Linked DNA regions of Homo sapiens: region 2 is linked to region 1. The links are contacts of gene promoters, found by promoter capture Hi-C in human tissues and cell types (Jung and others, 2019). All regions are on one chromosome and are shown on one strand. Each heading gives the region's core, a stretch centred on a gene start or on the middle of the fragment in contact. The rest is flanking DNA. Distances are from core to core; before and after follow the strand shown. Region 1 holds the start of RNF17 (ring finger protein 17). Region 2 overlaps ATP12A (ATPase H+/K+ transporting non-gastric alpha2 subunit).

The links. The method cuts DNA at HindIII sites, captures the fragments that hold promoters and counts their contacts. A contact is called where the count stands out against the background at its distance.
Region 2: a fragment that was not itself captured here is called in contact with the fragment with the promoter of RNF17 in region 1 in 1 of the 25 tissues and cell types used here (adrenal gland).

What each region holds. Positions count from the first base shown.
Region 1 is chr13:24,759,278-24,766,043 of GRCh38, reverse strand. It overlaps RNF17 (ring finger protein 17), which reads right to left and starts at 1,875. Exons shown (of 36, transcript NM_031277.3): 1 at 1,711-1,875. The coding sequence starts at 1,840. The HindIII fragment of the contact is 17,753 bases long and covers 1-6,766 here.
Region 2 is chr13:24,696,661-24,703,569 of GRCh38, reverse strand. ATP12A (ATPase H+/K+ transporting non-gastric alpha2 subunit) reads right to left here. Exons shown (of 23, transcript NM_001676.7): 12 at 4,720-4,912; 13 at 2,648-2,823; 14 at 1,499-1,635. It also overlaps the pseudogene RNY1P7. Among named protein-coding and RNA genes, the nearest start is that of ATP12A, 20 kb to the right of the region's middle. The HindIII fragment of the contact is 3,970 bases long and covers 1-3,592 here.

The DNA of each region.
Region 1 (6,766 bases), core at 626-3,125:
GTTGCCTAGGCTGGTCTTGATCTCCCGACCTCAAGTGATCCGCCCACCTCGGCCTCCCAAAGTGCTGGGACTATAGGCGTGAGCCACTGTGCCCGGCCTTGCATTAATTGTATTTTTTAAAAACTTTACAAGTTTCCTATCCAACTGAAATACCTGAAACTTGCTTACAACCATGCTAAATTTTAAAACCCTATTTAACTTCCAGGGATAATATTGCCAAAGAAATAAAAACACTTAACTATTATAAAATTTCTGATACTGAATAACTCAAAATAACTTGTGGTGAATTACAGCTTAAAAAGCACTTTCAGGATTCTATATACATAACCACTACTTCTCCAGTTTAGTTTTTCTAAGCATTATAATACTAATGTATGGAAGAAGTACTCATTTTAAAAGGTTGTGTTCTAGAACTTTATTCCGTAATTTTAATTTCATTCAAAAATGGAAATTTTCTACGTAACGGTAGCAGTGATCTAAACCCCAAGTAGGAGAAACTTGGTTCTCCACTGAAATCACAACTTTTTCTGCAGAGGCTCACATCTCACAGAGTCCATCTTGCCAAGACTGAGAAAACTGATCGAATGACCTTAACTTTGAAAGTATAAACATTAAACAGTTACGCCAGGTAATACGAATTTTCAGTAGCTCCAGGAATTGAGATTCAACAACTCAGCTGTATTAAGAGCACACTAAGGTATTTTAAGTTACATTAAAATAACTTGAACCGGCCGGGCGCGGTGGCTCACGCCTGTAATCCCAGCACTTTGGGAGGCCAAGACGGGCGGATCACGAGGTCAGGAGATCGAGACCATCCTGGCTAACACGGTGAAACCCTGTCTCTACTAAATATACAAAAAATTAGCCGGGCGTGGTGGCGGGCGCCTGTAGTCCCAGCTACTCCAGAGGCTGAGACAGGAGAATGGCGTGAACCTGGGAGGCGGAGCTTGCAGTGAGCCGAGATCGCGCCACTGCACTCCAGCCTGGGCTACAGAGCGAGACTCCAACTCAAAGAAAAAAATAATAATAAATAACTTGAACCTGTGATCACTTGAGTAGATTGTAGGTGAACAGACCAATAATAGTGCAGTGTATTTTTCCCCTCACGTATAAAGACCAACACACACACACACACACACACACACACACACACACCCCACAAGGTGCACAAAAGAAACTATCATTTTCCAAACAGTGTTTTAGGCCAGTGTGAGCCATAATGTAAAAAACAAACAAAAAAACCCCCACAGAAACAACAAAATGCTAACAACAACAACAAAATCCAAAACCATTTCACAATGGTCTACTTGTTACTCCTACAACAAAAACTACAGGAGAAAATCAAGTTTCGTTCCTTCTTGATGACAAAACAATGGGCTACATTTTATGTCTACTTTTGCATGCACCCGCTAACCTGCCTTGTGAGGAGTAGATTAAAGCCACCCGGGCCCCCATCCTCCCGGCTGGAGGGTCGGTGAGGCCTGGATGGGTAATTGGAGAAAGCCGTGACAGGCGCAGGTGCTGCCCTTAACCAACCCAAGCACTGCCCTCTTAGAGGTCGGGTGCAGCTCGCGGGAGGCCTGTGACGCAGTTTCTGGTGACACCAGGATTGGATGCAGCTGACCAAGCCTCACGCGCCCACCAGCTCACCTGGCCCCCAGCGCTCCCTCCAGGCTGCCTCCCCGCTAGGTGGGCCCTTGGGCTCCTCACCGGATGATCTGGATACCCTCCTTCCACACCTGGTGCACTGGATTTCAGCGGCACCCCAGGGCTGACTCTTCCTCCCCATTCGCTGGTAGGAAGACCTAGAAGGCCCAGTCTTCGAAGCCTCTGCCGCCATCGCTGTCTCTTTCTTCTGGAACAACCGCCGAGTGCGAGTCCCGGCGGCCCTCGCGGCAGCGACCAATCATTGGAGGCCAGCCCCTGCAGATAGCCAAACAGTGGGCCGGGAGATTAAAGCCCGCCCCCAAGCTCGCTCCTGATGGGGCTGGGGCTGTTTTCCGTTATCCTGGGAGGTACCACTCCTAGAAGGGGCGCCTTGTGGCCGTTGAGGACCGTTCGTTTTTACGTTCTACCCAAAGAGTCACCACTTTAGTGCTTTTAGTCATCACAAATTAAAATTTCGCATATTATTACTTACATTGTGAGTGACTTTATAGATAATCATTTGGATTGAAACAATCCCCTTTCCCTATTACGTGTCAGGGCCAGAAGCCCTAAACCTGTGTGCTTCGGGCATCCAGGGCTTGGCCAATAGCAGCTGGAGTGGAGAAGCTAATGAGAAGCTATCGTTGGGGTAGATTCAGTGAACGCTTTCGAATTAAGGAGTGTTCATCATTACTAACTGCTGTTGAGCCTAATAATATACAAGGCAGCGTGCCAAGAGTGGTTGGGGATGCTAAGAATTTATGAACTAGCAGGTTTCTGCTTGAGAGATACATAACTCCTTAAAAAAACCCAGTAACTTCCGCCAAAATAAGTGTTATGTACCGGACCTGTGTTAGAGACAGTAAGAATTAGCCTTCTGGGCCCGGCGCGGTGGCTCACGCCTGTAATGCCAGCACTTTGGGAGGCCAGGGCGGGCAGATCACGAGGTCAGGAGATCGAGACCATCCTGGCTAACATGGTGAAACCCTGTCTCTACTAAAAATACAAAAAAAAAAAAAAAAAAAAATTAGCCGGACGTGGCGGTGGGCGCCTGTAGTTCCAGCTACTTGGGAGGCTGAGGCAGGAGAATGGCGTGAACCTGGGAGGCGGAGCTTGCAGTGAGCCGAGATCATACCACTGCACTCCAGTCTGGGCGACAGAGCGAGACTGCGTCTCAAAAAAAAAAAAAAAAGAGTTGAAGCAACTTGTCCAAGCATAGTTCACAAAAAGCAATGAAGAAATGAAGTCAATATGGTCTACGGTGGTATGAAAACTCTTCGTAGAGGATATAGGGTTTGCACTAGACCTTACAACCTAGGTAGTACTTACAGGAGTAAACAAGAACTAAGGGATTCCAAGAATAAAGAACACATCAGCGAGGGAAGGTAGATGTGAGGGAAGGTAGATGGAAGACACAGTGACTTCTTGAGAATTTAAAGACCATTTAGCCAGAGTATGAGTTTCCTTAAAGTAAGCTTCTTTGGAGAGGTGTGTCAGGGAAGAATTTCGGAGAATCTCGAGTGTAAGGCTGAGGAGTTTGGACTTTACTCTTTAAGCAGTAGAGTGCATGAGACGTTTTGTGAGCAAGGAATGAAGTAATCTAGTAGAAAGGTGGCAGGTGTATTTCAAACAAAACACCTGGAGGTGGCACGGTTGCCTTTTGCTGCTAAGAATAAAGCCTGCCCATATTCCTCATTTTCTTTTCTCTCTACACTGTGTGTGGGTAACTAGAAACTGTGAAGTAAGTATTCTCTTGAAAGGCTCACTTCGGCTCAAAAATCTTTGTAATTTGTTGTCTTCGAGAGAAAAGTACTGCTTCCCTAAATTACCCTCATTCTACTACTCATCCAATAGTTTCCACTACTAATCCATGATGGAACTGAGTACTAATCAAGCCAATATTCTCATGTAACATGTTGACTCTTCTACAGTTTTGTGAGTATTATTCCCTATTCCCCTCATCTGGAATACCTACTGTTCACTCTTCATCAATTCATATTCTCTTTTTTTTTTTTTTTTTTTTTTTTAGAAATGGAGTCTTGCTCTGTCGCCCAGGCTGGAGTGCAATGGCGAGATCTCAGCTCACTGCAACCTTGGTCTCCGGGTTCAAGCAATTCTCCTGTCTCAGCCTCCCCAGTAACTGGGACTACAGGCGCATGCCACCACGCCCAGCTGATTTTTTGTATTTTAGTATTGACTGGGTTTCACTGTGTTGCACAGGCTGCTCTCAAACTCCTGAGCTCAGGCAGTCTGCCCGCCTTAGGCCTCCCAAAGTGCTAGGATTACAGGCGTGAGCCACCGCGTCCGGCCCATATTCTCCTTATCCTTCCTGGATCAGCTTTAGAAGCACTTTCTCCTTTAAACCTTCACATTTCTCTCCACACTTAATGCTATTCTAGCATGTAGCAAGCCTCTTTTTCCTCTAGGATAGCTGTACTGTAATTTGAATAATGACAATCTCATTGCATAGGTGTTCATCGTGGGCCATAATGTGGATATTTAATGTGGGTCTTGAGTTTCATCAGAGATGCCTTTGGTAATCCCAGAAATTGAATTAATCTTGGATAAATCAGGGCCAGTGAGAAATACACTGATAGATGATTATACCACATTTGTTCATTTCTTAGCACTTACCAAGAACCCTCAAATAGAGCAGCCAGAAATGTCTTCTTAACATTCAATTTAGGTTGTTTAAATCCTTTGTTTGGAACCCTTTAATGGCTTCCTATGAATTACAACAAAACCTTAATGGCCTTGGAGGTTTGCCCTCTGCCTGCCTCTCTACCAGTGCCTTTCTAGTGCTCTAAAATCATCTCCTAAACAGCTGAGAAATGAGATAAACAGGGCTCCCTTCTTGAATACACAATTTTTATAAATTGCATCTGACCCACAGTGAATGTCTTTTAGAAAGTTTCACCAAAACTAAAGAGAAATTCAGAGATCAAATAGCAGCAGCAGATCAGAGAAAGAATGTAGAACTATGCAGTCACAGAGCTAACCTGCAGGCTGCCCTTAGCCCTGTGCACCTGAAATCAAATCCATGGTCAAAGTTAGGTTTCTTTGTTGTTGTTAAGCATATAACATATTTATTCCCAACATAAGAGTGGGATTAATAGAATAACACCAAGCCAAAATATTAATATTCTAAAACCAAATTATTGAATAGAAACATATAACATATTTATTCCCACCATAAGAGTGGGATTAATAGAATAACACCAAGCCAGAATTTTAATATTCTAAAACCAAATTAATCTATTGAATAGACGTATTTCAACATTTAACTAAGTTAACCCATTCAGTTACCTTCTCGAAAATATACACAACAAATAATTTATACTGTTTCCCATAATGGCTGTACTAATTTACATTCCCACTAACTGTATAAGGGTTCCCTTTTCTCCATATCCTTGCCAACAGTTGTTATCTTTTGTCTTTTTTTTTAAATAATCTCCATTCTAATACCGTCTGTAATTTCTCATTGTGGTTTTAATTTGCATTTCCCTGATGATTAGTGACATTGAGCATGCTTTCATATACCTATTAGCCATTTGTATGTCATCTTTTGAGAAATGTCTATTTAGGTCCTTTGCTCACTTTCTGTTTGAGTTGTTTTCTTCCTACTGAGTTGTTTATGTTCCTTATGTATTTTGGATATTAACCCCTTACCAGATGTATAGTTTGCAAATATTTTCTCCCATTCCATAGGCTCTTTACTTTGCTGACTGTTTCCTTTGCTATGCAGAGTTTTCTGTTAATAGTTCGATGTAATCCTGTTTGTCTATTTTTGCTTTTGTTGCCTGTGCTTTTGTTGTCATATCCAAAAAAATCATTCTCCAGACCAGTGACGTAGAGCTTTCCCACTATTTTCTTCTAGCAGTTTTACAGTTTCAGGTCTTTTAAATCTCTAATCTATTTTGAGTTGATTTTTGCATATAATGTGAGATAATGATCTAATTTCATTCTTCTGCATGTGGATATCTAGTTTTCCCAGCATTGGAATGACTTTTAAAAGGTATTCATTCTCTGTTAACATTTCTTTCTGGAAAACTTGTATTACTTGTATTTATATTCACATTCTTTCAAGTTTATTTTCCCCGTTGGATAATGTGACTAGGCCCTTTTTATCATAATCATTTTTCTCAGATATCCAGTTAACATACATTTTGTTTTACTCTTTAAGAGTCTCAATCACTACATCTTGTGTATATGTGTATGCATCTCTGTGTAAAACTAAGACTATATATATATTTTTTGAGATGGAGTCTTGCTCTGTCACCCAGGCTGGCGTGCAGTGGCGTGATCTCAGCTCGCTGCAACCTCTGCCTCCCGGGTTCAAGCAATTCTCCTGCCTCAGCCTCCCAAATAGCTGGGATTACAGGCGCGCTCCCCACGCCTGGCTAATTTTTTGTATTTTTAGTAGAGAAGGGGTTTCACCATGTTGGCCAGGCTGGTCTCGAACTCCTGACCTCAGGTTATCCACCCGCCTCATCCTCCCAAAGTGCTGGGATTACAGGCGTGAGCCACCGTGCCTGGCTGCGACTACATTTATTCTTATAGAAACCAATCTTGGGTCTGAGACACAATGACTTTACAGTCTCCTAAAGTTTTGTTATTGTTTTCTTTTTAACTTGGTGGTAGGAAATTCTTATCTCTCCCTCTCTCATTCCTTCACTCCCTTCCTTTTTTTCTTTCTTTGCTTAAATTACCTTTTTGGTAGGCTTCTGAGATTTCTGCCCATTCTGCAACCATTTTTGACTAGAGATAGTCCTATGATACATCTTTCTGAGAAAGTTTACCCTGCTGTTTAAATTTCTAGAGATGACAACTACAACATCTTGTGATAGCTTTAGAAACTCTTGCTTCCCTCACCCTTATTTTGACCATTTCTTGATTCCTCTGTTTAACTAATTTAGAATGTGCATGCTGGAGGCATAATACCTTGAGGGTTCTGAAAATAAATTATGTATGTGGTTAGCAATTTATTTTGGTCCAGAAGGAACTACTACAGTTATTACATCTTGGTTCCATATGCTACATTAACATATTTTATGTCCCAAAGGAATTTTTAAATTGTGTTTGTGGGTTATGCTACCAACAATGTAATATTAGCTTTTCT
Region 2 (6,909 bases), core at 358-2,857, 62 kb after region 1:
TTGACTACTCTTAAAAAAATTTCTTTTAGTCCAGGTGTGGTGGCTCACGCCTGTAAGCCCAGCACTTTGGGAGGCTAAGGTGGGTGGATCACTTGAGGTCAGGAGTTTGAGACCAGCCTGGCCAACATGGCAAAGCCCCGTCTCTACTAAAAATACAAAATTAGCCAGGCATGGTGGCGGGCGCCTGTAATCCCAGCTATTCAGGAGGCTGAGGCAGGAGAATCGCTTGAACCCAGGAGGTGGAGATTGCAGTGAGCTGAGATCACACCACTGCATTACAGCGTGGGTGACAGAGAGAGACTCTGTCTAAATAAACAAACAAACAAACAAACAAAATTTGTTTAAAATTCTAAAGTGAAAAAAAGTATAATCCGATTATCTTACAAAACCAAACAAATAAACAAGCCCCAAAGTTGTTTTCATAGAGGGATGTTATGTATACTAAAGGGCACTGCAAGACTCTTAGACTTCAGGTACTGCTGCTGTGCCCAGAGGCGGGAACCCTGGTTGGTTGTCTAACGTGGTAATTTGTTATGACCTGACAGCTGTGTGTCCCTAAAAGACCTAAGTGCTTGGGGAAACTGAAGAGGTGCATTGGTCTTTCCCTCATCTCCCGCATGCGTGAAAACATAACCCAGCTAATGAACATTACTTCTCAACCTGAGAATTCGGAGTCTTTGACTCATGGAGACCAGGCACAGTCCAGGCCACTCTCCTGCATGCCCAGCTCCCTAGCCTTGTGTGGCTCCCTCATTACACTGGCCACATCATTGTTAGCTTTGTTTGTGTCTCCTTGGCTCGATGGAAAGATTCCCCAACGGTGTGGATAGTATTGTTCAGTTTGCTACTGTAGTTCCAGGTCTTGCCTGGTATATAGTTGGCACGCAGTAAATACTTGTTGAAAGAACAAATACATGAGTGAATGTACAGTTGGATGAACATGATTAAAAGAATAAGGATAAACATGATTAAAAGAATTAGGAGAAACAAGGAAAAAAACTTTCCTTAGGAAGCTTCCATTCTATCTATTACCAAATAAAAAAGAAGGGTGTGTTTACATAGCTACACGTTATGAAACCGGGTGGATAAATACCCAAGATGCTTACCAAGGAGGGTGCATGAAACAACCCACAGGGTTCTTACGATTCCAAATTATGCAACTGCATCTATGGCAAGTAATTTCACATAAACCCTTTGTTTCAGTTTTTCTTATTCTAAATTGGGCACATAGGTTTTGTGCCCAGGGCACACTGGATTTTGAAATTTCAAACAAGGAACACATAAAGGGTCATTTCATGGTATCAATACTGTGCCTGGCACATATTAGCTGCTCAGTGAAATTAGAGTGAATACATGGATATGCAAATAATAGCTCAAACAAGCCTAGCATAACTCTGAGAGCAAAAAGCTGATTTGTTCCAAGTAGTGCAGCTCTTTAGAGCCAGTGGGGCCCCATGGGTATAAACTGGAATTTTTACTATGCTGCTCCTGTGCTTACCGTTTGTTAACTTGCTCCACAGCAATGTTGAGGCGATGTGCAATGTCTTCCACTGTTTCACTGTTGGCTGAAATGATCCCCACACTCTTGGCAATAGCTTTGGCTGTGATGGGATGATCACCAGTAACCATAATAACCTAGAGCAAAGACAACGAGAAGGCCCACGGGTAATGAAGAACTCGGTTGGCCAAAGTGGGGATGGTTCAGTAATACCTACTCTGTAGTGCCCTGGGAGAACGTGGTTGGTGATTACAGTGGCAGCTCTGGATCTACGAGACAACTGTCTTTGGAGGAAACACTAATCCCATTGGGTCTACCCTTGCTCCTAAGCTTCATACGCTTCCTCCTCTGACATGAAAGGAAGCCCTTCCCCTTTGATGCCACTTTATTTGTGAAAGGGCTGGTGAGTGTCTACTTGGGGGTAGCCCCATGTTACTTCAACAGTCTTAATATTAACCTAGTAATGATGAACATGGATTATGGGGGCTGAGCCTCAAGACTGAGTAATAAAGCCTTTTTTCTTTCTTTTTTTCTTTTCTTTTCTTTCTTTCTTTTTTTTTTTTTTTTTTTGAGACAGAGTTTCACTCTTGTTGCCCAAGCTGGAGTGCAATGGTGTGATCTCGGCTCACTGCAACCTCTGCCTCCTGGATTCAAGAGATTCTCCTGCCTCAGCCTCCCGAGTAGCTGGGATTACAGGTGTGTGCCACCACATCTGGCTAATTTTTTTGTATTTTTAGTAGAAACGGGGTTTCACCATGTTGGCCATGGCTGGTCTGGAACTCCTGACCTCAGATGATCCGCCTGCCTCAGCTTCCCAAAGTGCTGGGATTTCAGGCATGAGCCACTGCGCCCAGCCAATAAAGCCTTTTAGTATCTACCATGGACTAGGGCGAGATATGGTCACTTCAAGGCACTAGGAGATTCTTCTCATTGCATTTACTGTTTATGTGGTTCATTCCACATAGACACAATCATTTTCTTTTTGTGGGACAGTTTCAGTAACCTTAGCACAGTGAAACTAGAAATAAAATAGGAATTATGATATTTACTTGAAGACACCTAAATACTGACCATCTGCTATGAAAACCATTATTAGAAAGGAACACGACATAAAGAAAGAACTTCTTGAGTCAGGAAAATAACTCCCACCTTGATCCCTGCACTCCGGCATTTGGTGACTGCATCTGGCACGGTGGACCGAGGGGGATCGATCATTGACAAGAGTCCCACAAAACAGAGGTTGGAGGTCGGAAAGTTCATAGCGTCTATGTCAAATGAGTAGGTTTCTGGAAACTCGTCTGCTGGCAGGTAGAGATGACAGAAACCTGTAATACAGATGAATTAGTGAGTCAGTGAAACTAGAATAGGAAACGAAAAAAAATAAGAGGAGAACATGCTCATACACCTTGGTCCTCTGCTGTTTTACCAATACATTAGAATAAGCCAGAATTGTTTAATTTCTTCAACTCCATAATGCATTTTTTTAGGAAAGACATATTTCATCCAAATATAATTCACTGTGAGCTCATTAGGCTCTGTGTTCTAGAAATATATCTTGCTATATTGCCAAGTTCTAGGGCAATACACAGTCTCGACTTCTGAAGTTTAGCGGGGCACAGAGTTAAAGGGATCAAGCATAGGGTACATCTCAGGGCAGAGACACATTTCAGCTGCCTGGAGGATTAGGAGAGACTTCCCCAAGGAGGTCACATGTGAGGTGAAGCTTGAGAGGGGCAAAGATGATTTCTAGGGAAAAAAGGGAGGGTGGAGGTGGGAAGGCCATTTTCAGCAGAGAAAACAGCATGTGAAGGAACAAGGGGGTTCAGCGGAGGGGCACAAAGTTCAGTGCTAGATCAAGATAAGCCCAAGAGAAAGGCCAGCAGGAATGGGGCCGAGCCATCCTTTTCTCAGAAGGCATCAGCCTCTCATAGGCTGAGGTGGAAGGGACTCTTGTGTCTGGTGGGACCTCCAAGATTGTGTGATCAGCTTTCACATCCAATTTATTTTCAGCCTGGCCCACTGCTTTGCAAATGTCAATGGAGCAGGCTTTGAGAAATCAAACGCAAGTGGGCATCGATCCCGTGTAGAATACCCGGTACTGTGGGTTATTGGATGCCTAAAGCATCACCATCTCATTTATATGCTTTATCTGATTTGCCAACTCCAATAGCCTTTAGAAACACACATTCCACAGACTGCATCTGTATTGGTGAGGACTTCCATGGTGTTTAATGAGCCGGATCGTCAACCATACACTTCTGTTTCCTTGAATTTGTCATTCTGTGGTCCTGATGGGGCACCATTCCGCCAGCCCTGGTGCTGACAACAGGACACACTGTCCCCTTTGACAACACCGCAGGCACCCCCATTGGGTCCTCCTCCTGTTGCATTTCTAAGGTTCCTTCCTTCCTGACACTTTGTCTGCATCACTGGCATCACTCTCTTCCTAGTCGTTAAATGGGAAGCTTAATCATTTTTAAACATTATCCTTCTCTGATAGGTTCTAAATCTTACCAAACTCTACCTCTATGAAGTCTCTTGCCCTGATCTCTCCTTCCCATTCCCATCACCCTGAAAAAATTCCCATCCCTTTTGCCTGAGCAAGGGCAGCTGCTTCCTATGGAGATGTGCATCTCTCCTCTCCCTGCTGCCGCCAAAGACATTTAAAGAAGTTAAAGAAATTTAACTCCTTCCATAAAGTCTTCCCCAGCCCTGCGACTGCCCAGCTCACTCTAGTGGCACAGCCCTCAGTGCTCTCTACTGACTGCAGGATGAAACCTGGCTCCTCACCCAGATGTTCAAGACCTCCATCTCATGACCTCCAGTCCAGCCCTTGAACCCTGTTTCTGTGACAGTGCCATCTCACCTGCTGGCAGCACCCAATGTGCCCCACGCCGTTCTGCCTCTGTGATTGGCCTGTGCTGTTCCCTGGGCCCTGGATACTTTCCCCTATCTCCCCTCAAATGCAGTCACTTAAGGCCCAGTTTGAAATTTAACTCCTTCCATAAAGTCTTCCCTGAGCTTGCCTCTCTGGAGGCCATCCCACCCTGCTTGGTGCTGTCACACAGCATCCTCTCCTTGTTCCCATCCTGCTTATCATGTTCTCCTTTACATGCTTCACGTGGATGCCATGGCCACTGGGCTAGGTCACAGGTCCTCAAGGCGCCTGCCTCATCTCTGTGCCCACCAGGTGATGGGCAGGGCCCTGCCGCCGCACTCACCCAGCACACGCTCGCCCAACCCGCCCAGCTCCATGTAGGCTGTGTGGAAGGTCTTGGCAGTGCTCTTGTCCAGTGGGTGCTCCTCGCCGTTGATCATGATGGTGCTGCATTTCTCTAGGATGCGCTCAGGGGCCCCCTTCATCACCATGAGGAAGCGCTTGCCGTGGGGGTCATCCATCTCGTGGATGGAGAGCTGGGAAGGAATGAACTGAGCGTGTTACTTACAGAAAGGTGAAACGCATTCCTTCTTCTCTACTGGTCCATTAAATGTAAAGGAGGAAGAGGCACAATGGCATCCTCAGCATGTTCCGCCCTTTTTCTTTCTGTGGCCAAGTAAGACGAAGAGCTCTAGACTTGGCCCCAGCCCAGAGTGGGGCACCCACTCTGGATAAGTGGAGCTCATCTTTCAAGCAAAACTGGCTGCTTTAGGCAGGCTAGTTGTGGCCGTCAGCGTGTGAAATCTTGTGCCTTGAACAAGATCTCCCAGGGTGCCCGTGAGAGTTAGGGGGCTGCGAGCCTCTGCATCTCACCTCCTCTACCTCCCTGTGGGGAGCAGCCGTCTTTCAGACCCAAACTATTCTGAGCTCAGGAGGGGAGGAGGCGACAGGAATTTCTGCACCTCCTCACCTCATTGTCCACCCAGTTTTCCTGCTTGGATGTCATAGAAAATGGCGGGGTGTGAGGAAGTGGACACTTCCACGTATAATGTTTCAGGAAGACAGCCGAGTCACAGGAGTCTCCATTTTAATAGGAATGCTCTTGACCCAGCAATTCTACTTCTAGATCCATCCTAATAAGATATGCAAAAAAAATCGATATACAAGAATAAAAGGACTAACTCTTATCTAGCCCTTCTGATAAGCCAGGTACTCTTCTAAGCACTCAAGAGGAATCTCAGGAAGCTGGAGTGTTTGGGAGAAAATAAGTTGCAAAGAAAAGTGCTACAATTTTGGGTAAAACAGTTCTTTACAAATCAGTATTTCTTAGACTTCTGGGTATCAAAGATGAGTACAAAAAGAAGTATAGGGCAAATAGGGTTACCAGCTGCTGCTGCTGCTTTTTTTAATGATCAAGTAAAGACATTGAGAAAACCAACCAACCAACAAAAACCAAACCAAACAGAAAACCTCCCAGCTCTATCACTTTCTAAAATATAGGCCTTTTCTTTTTCTTTCTCTCTTTCTCTCTTAAATTTTTTTTTTTTTTTTTTTGAGACGGGGTCCCACTCTGTGCCCCAGGCTGGAGTGCAGTGGCACGATCACAGCTCACTGCAGCCTCGACCTCCCAGGCTCAAGCAATCCTCCCACCTCAGCCTCCCAAGTAGCTGGGACTACAGGTATGTGCCACCATGCCCAGCTAATTTCGTTTTTTGTTTTTTTTGTAGAGATAAGGTCTTGGTATATTGCCCAGGCTGGTCTTGAACTCCTGGGCTCAAGCAATCTGCCTTCTTCGATCTCCCAAAGTGCTGTGATTACAGGTGTGAGCCACTGTACCTGGCCAAGATAAGGCTTTTTACATTTAAAACATAGGGATAATATGAAACACTTTTATGGTATGTACCACGTGCCAGGCACTGTTCTAAGTGCTGTCCACATCGACTTATTTATTCTCAAAACAACTTTAAGGCCATGGGTACTATTATTATTCCCTTTTACAAAGGAGGAAACTGAGGCACAGAGGTTCAATGCTTCACTCAGGGTCACTGAGCAATAGGTGGCTATCTGGTGGCTGAGCTGGGATTTGAGCCCAGGCTAGCAGGCTCCAGAGTCCCTGCCCTTAATCATGGTGGCTACAAAGGATAATCTTTTAAATTAAATACATTCATCTTTATATAAAACTTTATAAAACATTTTCCAATTTGCCGTAAACTGTTTCAAATGTCTTAACAGACCAGTGTGTTTGGGGCATCACCATTCTAATCAATAAGACACAGGCTTTCCATTTTATTTCCTTCCCGCAGAGACGTCTCCTTCCAAGGCCATGACATCTAAAGCCCTGGTGAGGCTGAGCACCGCTCATGTGTAGATATAAAATGACCCTAACAGCATCCAGACAGCACCTCCGACCTCTTCAGCAGGAACTCACACAGCCCCTCTCCCCTTTCTTTTTTTTTTTTTTTTTTTTTTTTTTTTGAGACGGAGTCTCGCTCTGTCGCCCAGGCCGGACTGCGGACTGCAGTGGCGCAATCTC